Regions from separate parts of the Homo sapiens genome. Here region 1 is linked to region 2. The links are contacts of gene promoters, found by promoter capture Hi-C in blood cells and fetal thymus (Javierre and others, 2016). All regions are on one chromosome and are shown on one strand. The core of a region is centred on a gene start or on the middle of the fragment in contact, and the rest is flanking DNA. Distances in the headings are between cores, read along the strand shown. Region 1 has its middle 50 kb from the start of VCAM1. Region 2 holds the start of GPR88 (G protein-coupled receptor 88).

Region 1 (7,185 bases), core at 2,251-4,750, 230 kb before region 2:
TAAAAATGGGGACTCAAATAGATATTTGTAGACCAATATTAATTTTAGCATTATTCATAATAACCAAAATGTAGAAACAACCCAAGTGTTTATCAACAGATAAGTGGATGAGCAAAATGTGGCATATATATACATACAAAAAATATTATTTAGCCATCAAAAGGAATAAAATTCTAAAACATGTTACAAAATGGATGAACCATGAAAACATTAAGTTAAGCAAAATAAGCCATACAAAAAGGGCAAACATTACATTGTTTCACTTATAGAAAATTTTTAGAATAGAGACAGAAGCAGATTAGGCATCACCAGGGGCTAAGGGAAGAAGGGAATGGGAACTTATGGCTTAATGGTTGGTTGTAGAGTTTTTGGTGGGGGTTGATAAAAAACTCTTAGAAATAGATAATGCCAGTGGTTGTACAACATTATGAGTGTGGCTAATACCACTGAATGTACACTTAAAAATGGTTAAAATGCCAAATTTTATGACATGTTATCACAATAAAACGTTTCAAAGAGAAGTGTAAAAAAGTGAAAGCAAACAAAAGACATTTTTAGATAAAAACAAAGTGAATATGTTGCCAGTATCTCTGCACTACAAAAACTGCCAAAGAAAGTTTTATAGGCTGAAGGGAAATGATAAAAAATGGAATTCTGAATTGAAAGGGAGAAGAAATTATAAATATGTGGGTAAATATAAACATTTGGTTTTCTTTCTTAATTTCTTTAAAAGTTAATTGACTAAAGCAAAAATAGTAAAAAATGTATTTGGGGTTCAAAATAAATGTCGAAGTAAAATGTATGACAAGAGTAGCACAAATGACAGGAAGGGATATAAGTGAAAATTACATACCTTACTGCTCTAAGGTTGTTATATATAAAATAATGTAATATTAATTCTAGACTGTGACAAACTAAGAATGCATATTATACGTAATCTCTAGAGAAACCACAAAATGTAATAATACAATGAGGTAGTTCAAAAAACAAATAGAGGAAACAAGGAAATTCTAAAAAATACTCAAGGCAGAGAAGAAAGAAGAAAAAGATATCCACAAAACGAAGCAAGTAGAAAACAAAAGCAAGATGATAGTTTAGAACCCCATCATATCAATAATTAAACCAATGCAAATGAACTATAGTTAAAAGGCAAATATTGCAGACTGAATTAAACAACAAAAAAGCAAGGTATAACTATACACAGATTAAAAGGGATGCACTTGAAATATGAAGACACAGGCAGGTTGAAAGTAAAGGATGAAAAAATATGCAAGAAAGACACTGACTGATATGGTGACACCAGTTTGCTATTAGTATCAAAGAAATGAATCTTCAAGACAAAGAATATCATCAGAGATAAAATTATTTCATAACGATAAAAGGATCAATTCATCAAGAAGGTTTAATGACACTAAATATGTATGCTCCTAATAATACTGTTTCAAAACACATTAAACAAATATTGGCAGAACTAAAAGAAGAAATAGATTTATTTTTGTATATTGCTAGATTCTATTTGCTAAGAATTTTTGTGTCTACGAACACATGGATTGGAAAACTAAATATTGTTAAGACATCAGTCTTCCCTAAATTGATGTATAGACCTGAGGCAATATCATTTAAATTCCAAGCAAGCTATTTTGTGTGTGTGTGTGTGTGTTTGTGTGTGTGTGTGTGTGTGTGTGTGTGTGTGTGTGACAGAGTCTCGCTCTGTCGCCCAGGCTGGAGTGCAATCTCAGCTCACTGCAACCTCCACCTCCTGGGTTCCGGTTATTCTCCTGCCTCAGCCTCCTGAGTAGCTGGGATTACAGGCATGTGCCACCACGCCCAGCTAATTTATGCATTTTTAGTAGAGATGGGGTTTCACTATGTTGGCCAGGCTGGTCTTAAACTCCTGACCTCAGGTGGTCTGCCTGCCTCGGCCTCCCAAAGTGCTGGGATTACAGGCAAGAGCCACCATGCCCAGCCTTTTTTTTTTTTTTTTAAATGTGGTAGAAACTGATAGCTAAACCTAAACTTTATATGAAAATGCAAAGGACCTGGAATATAACCTTAAAAAATAAGAATAAAATTGTAGTAGTTACACTGACTCCATAACTTATTAACTCATTAAAAAGCTATATAATCATAATAGTAAGATGTTAATAAAATATAGATCAGTAGGTCAATAAAACTGGATAGACAGACCAAAAATAAACATATACACTTTTAAAAGTCAATTACTTTTGACAAGGTACCGAGACAATTCAATAGAGAAGGGGAAGTCTTTAAACAAATGTTGCTGTAACAACAGGATTTTTGTAAGGAAAAAATATGAATCTTAACTGCTATGTTATGTAATACATAAATATTAATGTGAAATGAATGACAGGACTAAACTAAAAAAACTGTAAAGCTTCTAGGAAAAATAACAGGAAAACATATTTAAGACTTTCTGATATGCAGAGATTTCTTAGAATTCTAAAAGCATTAAGCATAAAGAAAAATTGATACAGTGTAATTTATAAATATTAAGAACTTCTCTCAATGAAACACTGATAATAAAACAATGATGTGAGCTAAAGACTGTGGAAACATTTGCTACATGTATATCTGATGAAGGACTTGTTTCTAAGTTATATAGACAATTATGGTATTAAGTAACAATAATTTTAAAAATCAACAACCCAGTTTTTAAAATTTGGGCAGAAAATTTTGAGACAATTAAAAACAGAATATATGAATGGTCAATAAACACAGAAAAAGCTCCCAACAGCACTCGTCTTCAGGGAAATGTAAATTAAAATCACCATGATATGCCACTCTTTATCTACTAGAATGGTTAAAGTTAATACCAAGCATTGACAAGAATGTGGCCCAAGAGGGACTCTCATACTTTGGTGGTGGCAGTGTGCAATGGCATGACTACTTGGAAAAGTTTATAGTTTCTTGTAAAGCTAAATATACACAACCCCATGACCCAGCAATTTCACATCTAGTTTTTTTTTTATCCAAGGGAAATGAAAACATACTTGTTGGCATTGGTTCTGACTTCTTTAAATGACACTTTCATAAGCAAACTTTCTAAAGGGTTAATCCATAATTGCTGTTACCATTTCTTTACCTCTCATTTGCTCCTCAAATCACTGTTATCACATATCATTCTTTTGACTCCTCTGAAATTGCTTTGGCAACACTTACCGGCAGCCTCAGTAAGTGCCAAATGGAATGTTCACTCTGAAATCATTGTTTTATTCTATTTCACTGCAGTCATTGTTTTACTCAATTTCACTACAGCAAATGTCATCATTGACCACGTTCCCTGCTTGAAATTTTCCTTCCCTGGTATACTAAGTACACTCTTACCGCTTTGGTTTCCTGACTATTTCCTTTTATTGTTCTTTGTTGAATTCATTTACTCTACTATCTTTTCTCATTAAATATTGGTGTCCTTAGGATTTTAGTTTTTTTTCCCTTACTTTATACAGCCATCTGCCACATAATGACGTTTCAGTAAACAATGGACTGCATATATGACAGCAGTTCCATAAGATTATAATACCATATTTTTACGGTAGCTTTTCTATGTTTAGATATGTTTAGGTACACAAATACTGACCACTGTGTTACAACTGCTTACAGTATTCAGCACAGTAGCATGCTGTACAGGTTCATAGCCTAGGAGCAGTAGACTATACCATCTAGGCCAGGTGTGTAGTAGGCTACACCATCTATGTTTGTGTTAAGTGCACTCTATGATGTTCATCCAACTACAAAATCACCTAACGATGCATTTCTCAGAATGTATCCTATCCTTAAGTGATACATAACTGTATATGTTATCTTGGTGATCTCATGCATCTCTCTGACTTCACCAACCATCTTTGTCTGATGACTCCCAGTCTGTATCTCCAGCTCTGGTTTCTTTCTTGACTCTGATCTGTGTATTCATCTCTGTATACAGAGATTGTATAATCCTAATCTCTGTCATTAAATCCTATTTAATTACTATTTCGGTGACTATTATACCCATCTTCTCTTTCCCAAATCTGGGATTCTTGTATTTTTCCTTTATTTTGACTTCTCCCTTATTTTTCTCAGAAATCTATCACCAAGTTCTATCAATTCTACTTTTCAAATTTTCTCATCTCCATGCCTTTCTGTGGGAACTACCATTGCCTTAGTTCAAGCCTTCACCATTTTCTACTTGTATTAAAATAACTTCTTAACTAGAATATCTGCTTTTAGCCTTCCCTCAGATTCAGTAACATCAAATCACTTATAATTCCCTAGGTATGCCATTGGATTAGACATAAACAGAGATGCCTGCTCACAGTTCCCTCAGGGACAAGGTACATTTCCCATCATGGTTATGCATCAGACGAGCTGACCCTGTCTCCCTGATTTAAGATGCTAATAAGGGCAGGAATCCTGCCCTTGTTAATTGGAATCTGATTAATTATGGAAGGAATCTGATTAATTATAATTATATTGTTAATTAATTAATTAAAATTAATTGTATAATTGATTATAATTATATTATTATAATCAGATTCCTTCTATAGACATTTTCAAACTGAAGGTAAAGAAAGAGAATATTTTTCCTCTCAGATCAGAAAAGCTTCCTTCAGCAATGCCTGTCCTCCCAACTTATGGATGATCTTATCTGAAGAGTAGAAATTTGGCCCATAGAGAGGAGAAGAGATGAGAAAAGGAAAAATTAAGAGTCCTGAGTTTGTGCTTCCAATGATCTATCCTACCTTTCCCAAGGTTTAGCTAGGTAGGTTCATAGAATTCCTCTTTTACCAGATTGAATTGGTTTTTTATCTTCAACAAAAAAAGGCCTAACTATAACAGCCATACTTTTAACCATCCGTTTCTTTTTTATTTTTGACATGTAATAACTGTACATAATTATGGGGTTCGTAGTGATGTTTCAATACATATAATGTATCATGATCAGATCAGGATAATTAGCATATCCATCATCTCAAACATTTGTCATTTCTTTTGCTGAGGACATTCAATAACCTCCTTCTTTCAGGTTTCAATAACCTGAAACTATATATTAGTGTTAACCATAGTCATCCTTTGGTGCTACTGAACACTAGAACTTATTTCTCCTATCTAGCTGTAATTTTGTATCCTTTAACTATTCTGTCCCTATCCCCCCATCCCTCCACCCTTCCCAGTCTCTAGGATCCTCTGTTCTACTTTTTACTTCAATGAGATCAACTTTTTTTTAGCTTCCATCTGTGAGTGAGACCATGTGGTGTTCAACTTTCTGTTTGTGGCTTATTTCATTTAATATGTCTTCCAGTTCCATCCATGTTGTTACAAATGGCAGAATTTCATTCTTTTTATGACTGAATAGTATTCCATTTTGTATATATACTACATTTTCTTCATCCATTCATCTACTTTTGGACACCTAGGTTGATTCCATATCTTGGCTATTGTGAATAGTGCTGCAATAAACATAGATGTGCAGATGTCTCTTTGATATAATGATTTCCTTTCCTTTGGATAAATGCCCAGTAGTAGAATGGCTGGATCATATGGTAGTTCTTTATATATTTATATATTTTTTGAGGAAACTCCATACTGTTCTACATAGTGGCTGTACTAATTTACATTCCCACCAACAGTATGTCAGAGTTCCTTTTTCTCTGCATACTCACAGTTTTATTTTTTTGTCTTTTTGATAATAGCCATCTTAACTGGGGTAAGATGATACCTCATTGTGGTTTTGATTTGCATTTCTCTGATGATTAATGATGTTGAGCATAGTCTCATATATTTGTTAGTCATTTTTATGTCTTCTCTTGAGGAACATCTGTTTAGATCATTTGCACATTTTTTAATCAGATTTTTTTTTTTGCTGTTGAGATAGTTCAGTTCCTCATATATTCTAGATATTCATATACTGTTGCATGAATAGCAAACAAATATTTTCTCCAATCTTTTAGGTTATCTTTTCACTCTGTTGATTATTTCTTTTACCATGCAGAAGCTTTTTAGTGTGACATAATCCCATTTGTTTACTTTTGCATGTGTTACCTATGCTTTTGAGGAAATGATTCATAAAATCATTTCCCAGACCAATGTTCCTGAATTATTTCCCCTATGTTTTCTTCCAGTAGTTTTATAGTTTGGGGTCTTACATTTAGGTATTTGATCCATTTTGAGTTGACTTTTGTATAGAGGGAGAGTTGGTGGTCTAGTTTCATTCTTCTGCATATAGATATCCAGTTTTCCTAGCATCATTTATTGAAGAACTTGTCCTTTTACCAGTGAGTGTTCCTGACATCCATCCTTTTTTCTTAAGTTAGAACTCCTGATTAGAGGAAGTTGGAATAACAATCAGCCATCTTTCGGGAATCAACCCAGATGTCACCACCTCTGCAACCCTTTGTCTAAAATCCCTGGTGGTTCCTTAACATCAGATACAATTTGCTGAATATATCAAGAGGTAATGAATGAATTGGTCTCATACCAGCTCCTTATATAATTAAGAATGCGTCAGGAGCTAACATTGCATTCATTAAATTAGTTACTATCCACTTTGTACTCATCCAAATATTCTCCATAATCTCTTCTGTCTTTAGGTCCATAGATATCTACTCAGCCATATATCTTCTTGGCAAGTTTCCCCTCTTCTTCCCTATTAATGAAGTTTTGCTTCCCTATTAAGTAGTCTCTTACAATGTTTAAAAATATCCTTCCTTTATTATATTCTAATTTTGAATTCTCTCTCTCCAAATCTCAGTAATGATTACAAGACTTTATTTACCACCATATATTAAAAAGTTTACATCATTTCCTATAATCTTGGTATTAATATATGAATCTGTAGGATGTGCCTTGAATCTAAATACGTGGCCACTTTTCAATTCTTGCATTACTACTCTGTAGCACCTGAAACAGTAGAACACTCCATCCTTGACACTCCCTCTTCCTTTAGCTTCTGTGAGAAAATGTTTTTCTCCCCCATTGCTTCTAGGCCTTCTTGTTTGTTAACTAACCTGATCAGCTCAGATTCAAGTAGAAGTTTAAATTTAACTTTCTTCTATCATCAACTTGAATGAAGAAAGAAACCATGAAAAGAACCAAAGCCTTACATTTCAAGTGCTTGAAATTTTATAGTTATTAAGGAGTTTCTCTTGGTTTCAGATCAGCTGGGGTGAGTTTAATGGGGTTAGTTGT
Region 2 (7,445 bases), core at 3,689-6,188:
GCCCCACTCTATCCTCCAACTGGGTCCTCCTGAAAAAAAAACAATACCCCCATTGTAGAAATTTTCTCCCTAATTCTGAGACACAGGAAAACTTGTCTGATCTTGGAACCCTCCCTGTCTTGTTTAAAACAAAGATCACCTGTGGATGCTTTTGTGAAAAACAATTCTTGTTTATTCACATACTACAATTTGGAAGAAGGGAAGTGCTAGGGGTAATATGTAATTCTATTACATCCTAGAATTTAGCTATTTAAAATGCAAGGGGAAGAGAGGCAGGTGCTATATGTCTTAACAGGCATATATCTAAAGGGAGAAAAAAGTAGAAAAGGCAAAATAGGGAAGCCCACAACAGCAATTAGGATTTTTTTTATTCCTGAGTGGATAATACGTGGTTTCATTTAAATAAAAACATGATCTCTGTTAATTTGTAAATCCAACAACTCCAACACTCACAGCTAGTGCCCTGGTAAGCCATTTTCAGACACATCATTACTACCTTGAAATTAAAAGTGAATCAGTCCTGTGGAGTTAATTACCAGTAAATTAAGCTAAAGTAGGTCTCCCATTGGCATGGAGCCAGTATAAGATGATTCTCAGTGCTAGCCAGAAACATTGCAAGATATCAAGATACCACTTGGAAAGCTGACTTCATATGCGTGGCAGATGTTTATAGGAATAGCGGGGGAAGTCATTCACAGCCATTTACAGTGAGAAACAGAGATAAAGTTCTAATTAAAAGAAGACCTTTTTGACAGAGACTTAGAAAAGCATCCCCCCTCCAGCCCCACCCCAAAAGGAAAATTCTCAGCTCTCTGTTGTTGTAACTTATTCCCCAACACTTACAGAAAGGAAATTTTACCTATTTCTCTTTGATGCTGGTATGTGGGCCTTATTTAATTATATAAAGTAGAAATAACTGTACAAACTAAAATTAGATAAAGCCAGCAAGAAGAAGTTACTTTCATCACTAGTGCTTTGGAATACCATATCCTCTGTTACAACGTTCTCAAGGAGGTATGCAAGGAAACCAGAGACAGAAGAAAAAAAACTCAGAATAGTTGTCTGAACTTTAATATTTGAATCAAGGAAAATGTGAACAGATGAAACTGTTAGTAAGAGAGAAATGGTGCATGCACAAAAGGGATAGATTAATAAAATGACAGCTGATTGTTGGTGATGAACATATTTGTTTTCCTTAACATGTCCCAACTTCCATAATTATTCAGATGTACAACAAGTGGTCCTAATGTCCTGGCTGAAATTGCCCAGGCGTGCAACAAAGCAAGCTGGTTTTGTTCCTGAATTATGCAGTTAACTGAGGCTGTTTGGGCCCAGATTTGATGTGGTAAGTAGTCAGAATGCTGACATATGATTATTAAAAATTATTAAAATTACTTTCTTCCCATTTTAATTTGATAAGGTGATTTCACACAATTTTGCATTTCAAATATTTCTAAGTAAATTTAGTAAACCAAAGATGAATATGACAAATCTCAAATAATATGTTTTAGAACACTTTCCCATTTGAACTGTTCACTATATATGACTGAGTTTATTATACCTCCTTCAACATATACGATATTGATGTTAAATGTCATGGTAATATATATGAACTACATAAAAACAGTGTTGCTTTCTAACGTGTGGCTTGTTTAAACCCTAAAAGAGCACAGCTGGCTTTGCTGAGCCAAACCATATTATTGATCCGTCTTGACTGTGATTCCACTTGTGAGATAAAGTCCCAACTGGGAGCTTTCTCATAAATTGGGTCAAGACAGGAAGAACTCTAGGTAGCCAGAGGTGTCTCTGTGTCTCTTTTCAAATAATTGAAGGCCATTTCTTCTGGTGTCTGGAAGAAGTAAAATATCCTTGTCTAACGGGTATTGCTTCAGTATACCACATGCCCAATAAGTTCTAGCATCTAGGAGCATGCAATAGCAGCTAATATTAGCTATGCAGTCATGGTATTATTAGTGTTTAATTATATCATGTGCATTGAGATATTTTAAATGTTAAAGAGAAAACAGAAGGACTTATTCTTCTTAGCAACCATTATAGTACAGAATGTTCAAAGCTGCAATCACATTCATAAGGCAAATAAATTGGTTACAAAATGAGGGTAGCAACAAGTGTGCATGCTATAGAAAATGTGAAACGGTACCTAAAATAGATAATCACCTTATTTGTTTTCAAAATTCCAGTGCTGGCTCTGACCATCAATTATCAAACTGGAAAATTTTCACTATAACACTCAACGCCAATTTTCAGTCTTAAGAGTGCGAAAAAAAAGGAGCATAAAATAATTTTTTTTCTCACTGGCTAAGATTCTACCTCATTTGAGAAAGACTTTATTAAAAACCCTTTTAAGAATAAAGGGCTTGAGGTCTTAATGGCAACTCATACTGGTGGGCACACCTAGGGCTTCACTGCCCCAGGGTAATATACAAAAACTAAATGGTAAGAGAAGCATCATCAAAGACAGGTTACTTTCTAAAATACTTTCTACATATTGTTTTCCTTCTTCAATGTTATTTCCTTTGGTTCATGCACACTCAAGGCGCTTCATATATAAGACGATGAAAGTGGAAAGGGTTATACATTATGAAAGCTCTTTTTCAAAAACAAACTGTGTGGAAATAAATTAACCGGTTATTTTAAAACGCCAGTTTGCAAGTTCTTCAAGTCTCTGGTGTTTTGACTTTAGGATTCCTCTAAAACACAGAAACAAAGGGTAAAAATCAGGTGGCCGTCCAAAATGACTTCGGGCGCCCCACTTAAAGAGACGCCTTGGTTCAGGTAGCCCGCTGGGGTCGAAGGCCCCATTTTCCCCCGATCTATCGGGCTTCGCGGCGGAAGTCTTCGTTCAGGCAGGGGATGCCCTAGGAGGGAAGGAGGCGACGGTGCCCAAGGACGTCGGAAGCCGGGGATCTCCGCTTCCCTCGGGCCCCGGCTAGGTTACCAGTGCTGGCCCGCGGCGCGGGTGCCCAGTTGCGCCTGGGACACTGCGGGCACGGCTGTGGCGGCAACGGCAGCGGCCGCCGCGTCGCCGACGCCCGGCAGGACTGAGCGCACGGAGCGGCGGAACTCCTCGTTCCTCCACGTGTAGAGCAGCGGATTGAGCGCGGACAGGGCGCAGCACAGGAGCCAGCTGGCCGCCTGCACTCCCCAGGGCACCGGCAGCGAGAAGCCGCTGGCCAGGCTCACCCACACCAGTGGCTGCGTGGCCAGCAGGAAGACGCAGCAGAGCAGCAGCACCGACAGGCCGCTGAGACGCCGCTGTGCCCGCCGCGGGTGCAGCGCGGGCGGCAGGGGCTGGGCCTGCGCCGGGTGCGCGGCGCCACCGGGGCCCGGCGCGTGCTGGGCGCCCGGGAAGGCGGCGGCGGCGGCGGCGCAGCCGGGCAACTGGTGCAGCAGGTGGAAGTTGAGCACGCTGACCCGCTTGACGCTGACACGCACGCGGCGCACGATGCCCAGGTAGCAGTGCAGCAGCAGAGCTGTCTGCGCCAGCAGCGCCGCGGCGGCCAGCAGCGCCGGGTAGTGGACTCGCGGTGGCGCGGCGCCGGGCCGCGGTGCCCAGGGCGGGAGCAGCAGCACGAGGCCCAGGGCGAGCGCCCAGGACAGCGCCAGCATGCCCGCCGTGTGGCGCCTCTGGTACAGCGCCTGGTAGGTGGCGGGCGCCCGGGTGATGAGCAGGTAGCGGTTCAGGGCCACGAGGCAGTGGGAGAGGAGGGACACCGTGAGTCCGAGGCCCAGCAGCCCACCCCGTAGCAGGCGGTAGCTGCCCCCAGCGCCGTCCCAGTCTGCGGGGGGCTCCGCAGAGCCGGTGGGCAGGAGCCCGAGCACCGCCTCCTGCGGCATCCAGAGGGCGCAGACGCTGAGGTCGGCGGCGCAGCCGTTCACGATGAAGGCGTTGCTGGTGGTCTGCAGCTTTCGGAAGGACGACACGAGATAGATGACCATGCCGTTGGCCAGCGTGCCCCCGATGGCCAGGCCCGAATACAGGAGTGACACCGGGATGCGCCGGCCCGCCCACGACTCCTCTTCCTCGCAGAGCAGCAGCAGCGAGCCACCGGTGGTGGAGGAGGTGGATGTGGAGGAGGAGTTGGTCATTCTGGCCAACTCTTCACACCTCCCTCGCTAGCGTCGGCTTCTGGCAGCGCGGTCCATCCTGACACTGTCCTGCCTGCCAGAAGGGCAAAGACATCCCTTCAGCCCTCTGCCACTGACACAAAAGGCTGAAGCAGAATAATGGGCTGGGGGAGGGGGAGAAAGGGAGCTCGAGGAGGAGGACGGGGGTGGCAGATGACAGGTGCCTGCCTCGGAAATGTCTCCAGAGCCAGGGGAAAGGCCACTTTGCATTGGATTCAGCAGGTATCGGGGAAGCCCTAGGACAGAGCAATACCTAAAACAGTCTCCTCTTCTCCCCCAACACACACACACACACACAGAGAGAGAGAGAGAGAGAGAGAGAGAGAGAGAGAGAGAGATATGTTGCCAGCTGGAGGACCTAGTTCCAGGAGAAAGCAGAGATATCCCAGCTGGGGAAAATCCCATGGGAAAGAGGTGAAGGTTACCTTGCGTTTAGGCTGGTCCTTAGCCGGTGTCTCAGGGGGAGGGATGCCGGGAAATACCTCCTCAGCAACAGCATCAGTGGTCCAGAAATCAACAGGAGAAACTCAGCTGGGATCAGTGCCAGGAGCAAGTGCCCGCTTCTCCCAAGCAGCATCCACACACATGGTCCTGGGCAGGAACTAGCAGCTGCAGGGAGACTTCTCAGCTGGTATCAGGGCTGGAGAAAGTAAAGTGGCGGGCTGCAAGCCCAGGCGGGTGGGCAGGCAGGCAGCAGCAGCAAGAATGCTTGGCTGCAAAAGCAGAAGCTGAGCTCAAGAGGAGAGCACCCTGTGCTCAGAAGCAGGAGTGGTGGCTGATGTGGTGAACCCACTCGAAGCTCTCTCCTGCTTAGTTATACATCATCCAGGGAAAAGACAGCCTTTCCACGCTTGGCATGAATTATTCAATAGCTTCCAACTTGTAAAAGGAAGAAAAATATCTTGCTCAGAAAGTCCTGTCGTTAACAAGTTTCTCTGTCTTTTCTCTCTCCCAATCACCTTATTTTTCATCCTGTTTCATTTTTCTTTCCGTCCTTTTTTTCCCTCCCTTCAATATTAGAATAAAATTTAATATACCCTAGAGTATTTCATCTCAGTCTGATGCATTTTGTGGGCAAGATTTTTCTGTGAGATAAATATATTCCCAGTACCCAGGACTGATCTCTTTATTCCCACATTTTTTAACGAGAATTACTTTATGCACTACTTGAAATTCATTTTTCTTTGGTAAAGTGGAACATAGACAATTATCCACAGAAAATCTCCATTCCTCAATTTAAATCGTACTTTCAGTGTTTTCTCATCAACAAACTCCTTTCCGGAGTTTGTTTTGTGTTTTAGTAATGAAATGGTTAGAGGGTAAAAATGAAATGGGCAAAAGATTTAAAGCAGATGTCAGTGGTACATCTAGACAATGGAATATTATTCAGTGCTAAAAAGAAATGAGCTGTCCAGCCATGAAAAGACATGAAGGAACCTTAAGTGTGTATCACTAAGTGACAGAAGCCAACTGGAAAGGACTACATACTGTATGCTACCAACTATGACATTCTTGAGAAGGCAAAACTATGGAGACAGTTAAAAAGACCAGTGGTTGCCCGAGTTAGGGGGAAAGGAGGAATGAATAGATGATCACGGAAGATTCTTAGGACAGTGGAACTACTCTGTATGATACCATAATAGTGGATCTGTGTACTTATAAATTTGCCCAAAGTGGCAGAATGTGAAACATCAGTGTAAGCCATGGACTTTGGGGAATGATGTGTCAACGTACATTCAATTGTAACAGACGAACCACTCTGGTGGGGGATTTTGATAATGGGAGAGGCTATGTATGCGAGGGGCAGGGAGTACATGGGAAATCTCTGTATCTTTCACTCAAATTTGCCATGAATCTAAAATTGCTCTAAAAAAATAAAGTCAATTTTAAAAAAATGTGTGTCAGGGGGAAAGCAAGAAACCTGAATAATCCACAGTGTGAACAAAGATGACTTTTCACTTCAGAACTTTTTGTCTTGTCTGTCTTGGAGATTTGCAGTCTGATGTTGGCATCTTCTTTGGTGCAAGTGTTCATTTATCCATTCCATGTGGGAATTTTTTCAGAAAAGGAGTTCTCTCAATTATTCACTGGAAAAGTCATGTATTTGAAAATGTAACTCAATATGGGAATATGGTAACATGGCATAATAGAAAAAAATGTTAGGTGGGGTTGCAGCACACCCAGATACTAAGCCGAGCATCCATCATGTAGCCTTGCGATGGATTATTTTCATCTTGTCAAATAAGTTCACAGTCAGTCACTTCAAAGGCCCTTTCTGTTAAAACTTTCTGTGAATCCCTATTCATGAATTTAGCATTTCTTCTCTCTAATTATGACACATGGCATATACCTCTTCTATCTAACATGCATTGCAGTTGTAGTTCTGGGTCATATGTCCCTAAGAGCAATGTTTCAGGAGAGAGGTCAAAACACAGCTTCTCTGCTTTTCTTTTTCTATTTCAAAATCAATATGGTTAGTTGATGACTTCAAGAACTCTGATGAGGATTAAGGATAAGCATGACTTGATAGATTTGGTCCAGCTAAGCTATATCTGAATGAAATTGGTTGGGGCAGGGGCAGGGGCCGGAGGGGGAAGTGAAAGAAAAGAACCAGTGACTTGCTATTCAGAGGGTTGAAGGTTTCGATATCAAGTTTACTGATGTAAATGAGATGAGTATTTGTCATCATCTTTTTGCCTATTGCCATTTGTCCTTATTGAGGTTTTGAGTGCATTAAGCACAGCAAGCCTGCATTTCTCCTTTCTAGTTATGACACATGGCGTATACCTCTTCTCTGTAACATGCATTGTAGTTCTGGCCCATATGTCCAGGAGTCTTTTCCACTCTGTCCCTAAGAGCAATGTTTCAGGAGAAAGGAGACTCTCCTAATCATTCATAGTTAAAACTTGCCATTGAAGTAAAGTTTTTTCTCTCACATTAACATAGTCCTAAAGGACTCTCTGATAGAATGTGGTGGGAGGGTATTCAAATTCTGGATCCCTGGTCCCAGCTGCCACTTTGTGTTGCCTTTGAGACGAGCAGCATTCCTGCTGAGGGACTCCAGTGCCTGGCAGTCACACACACTTCCTCCAAGACCATGCCTCCCTTAGCGCTGGCCTGACAGGGGCCAAATTTTTGTTTGTTTCTGGATTTGGTTTTCCTTTTGTTTTAAGTTAATGAACTTACATAATATAGGGTGGGAATTTTTTCTATCTTATTTCCAGCACCAGGTCAGTGCCTGGGACATAGTAGAAACTTAATCAATACTTACTGAATTAATAAGTGAATGGCAGTGT

What was found. Contacts are between HindIII fragments. The CHiCAGO score rates a contact against its expected background, and 5 or more counts as called.
Region 1: a fragment that was not itself captured here is called in contact with the fragment with the promoter of GPR88 in region 2 in 1 of 17 cell types (megakaryocytes); the score reaches 5.2 in megakaryocytes.

What each region holds. Positions count from the first base shown.
Region 1 is chr1:100,766,190-100,773,374 of GRCh38, reverse strand. No RefSeq gene overlaps it. Among named protein-coding and RNA genes, the nearest start is that of VCAM1, 50 kb to the right of the region's middle. The HindIII fragment of the contact is 2,205 bases long and covers 2,398-4,602 here.
Region 2 is chr1:100,535,632-100,543,076 of GRCh38, reverse strand. GPR88 (G protein-coupled receptor 88) reads right to left here and starts at 4,938. Exons shown (of 2, transcript NM_022049.3): 1 at 4,575-4,938; 2 at 1,056-4,183. The coding sequence starts at 4,110. The coding sequence ends at 2,956. RefSeq lists a silencer at 3,377-3,546 and enhancers at 2,816-3,664, 3,817-4,216, 3,665-4,514. The HindIII fragment of the contact is 8,214 bases long and covers 1-7,445 here.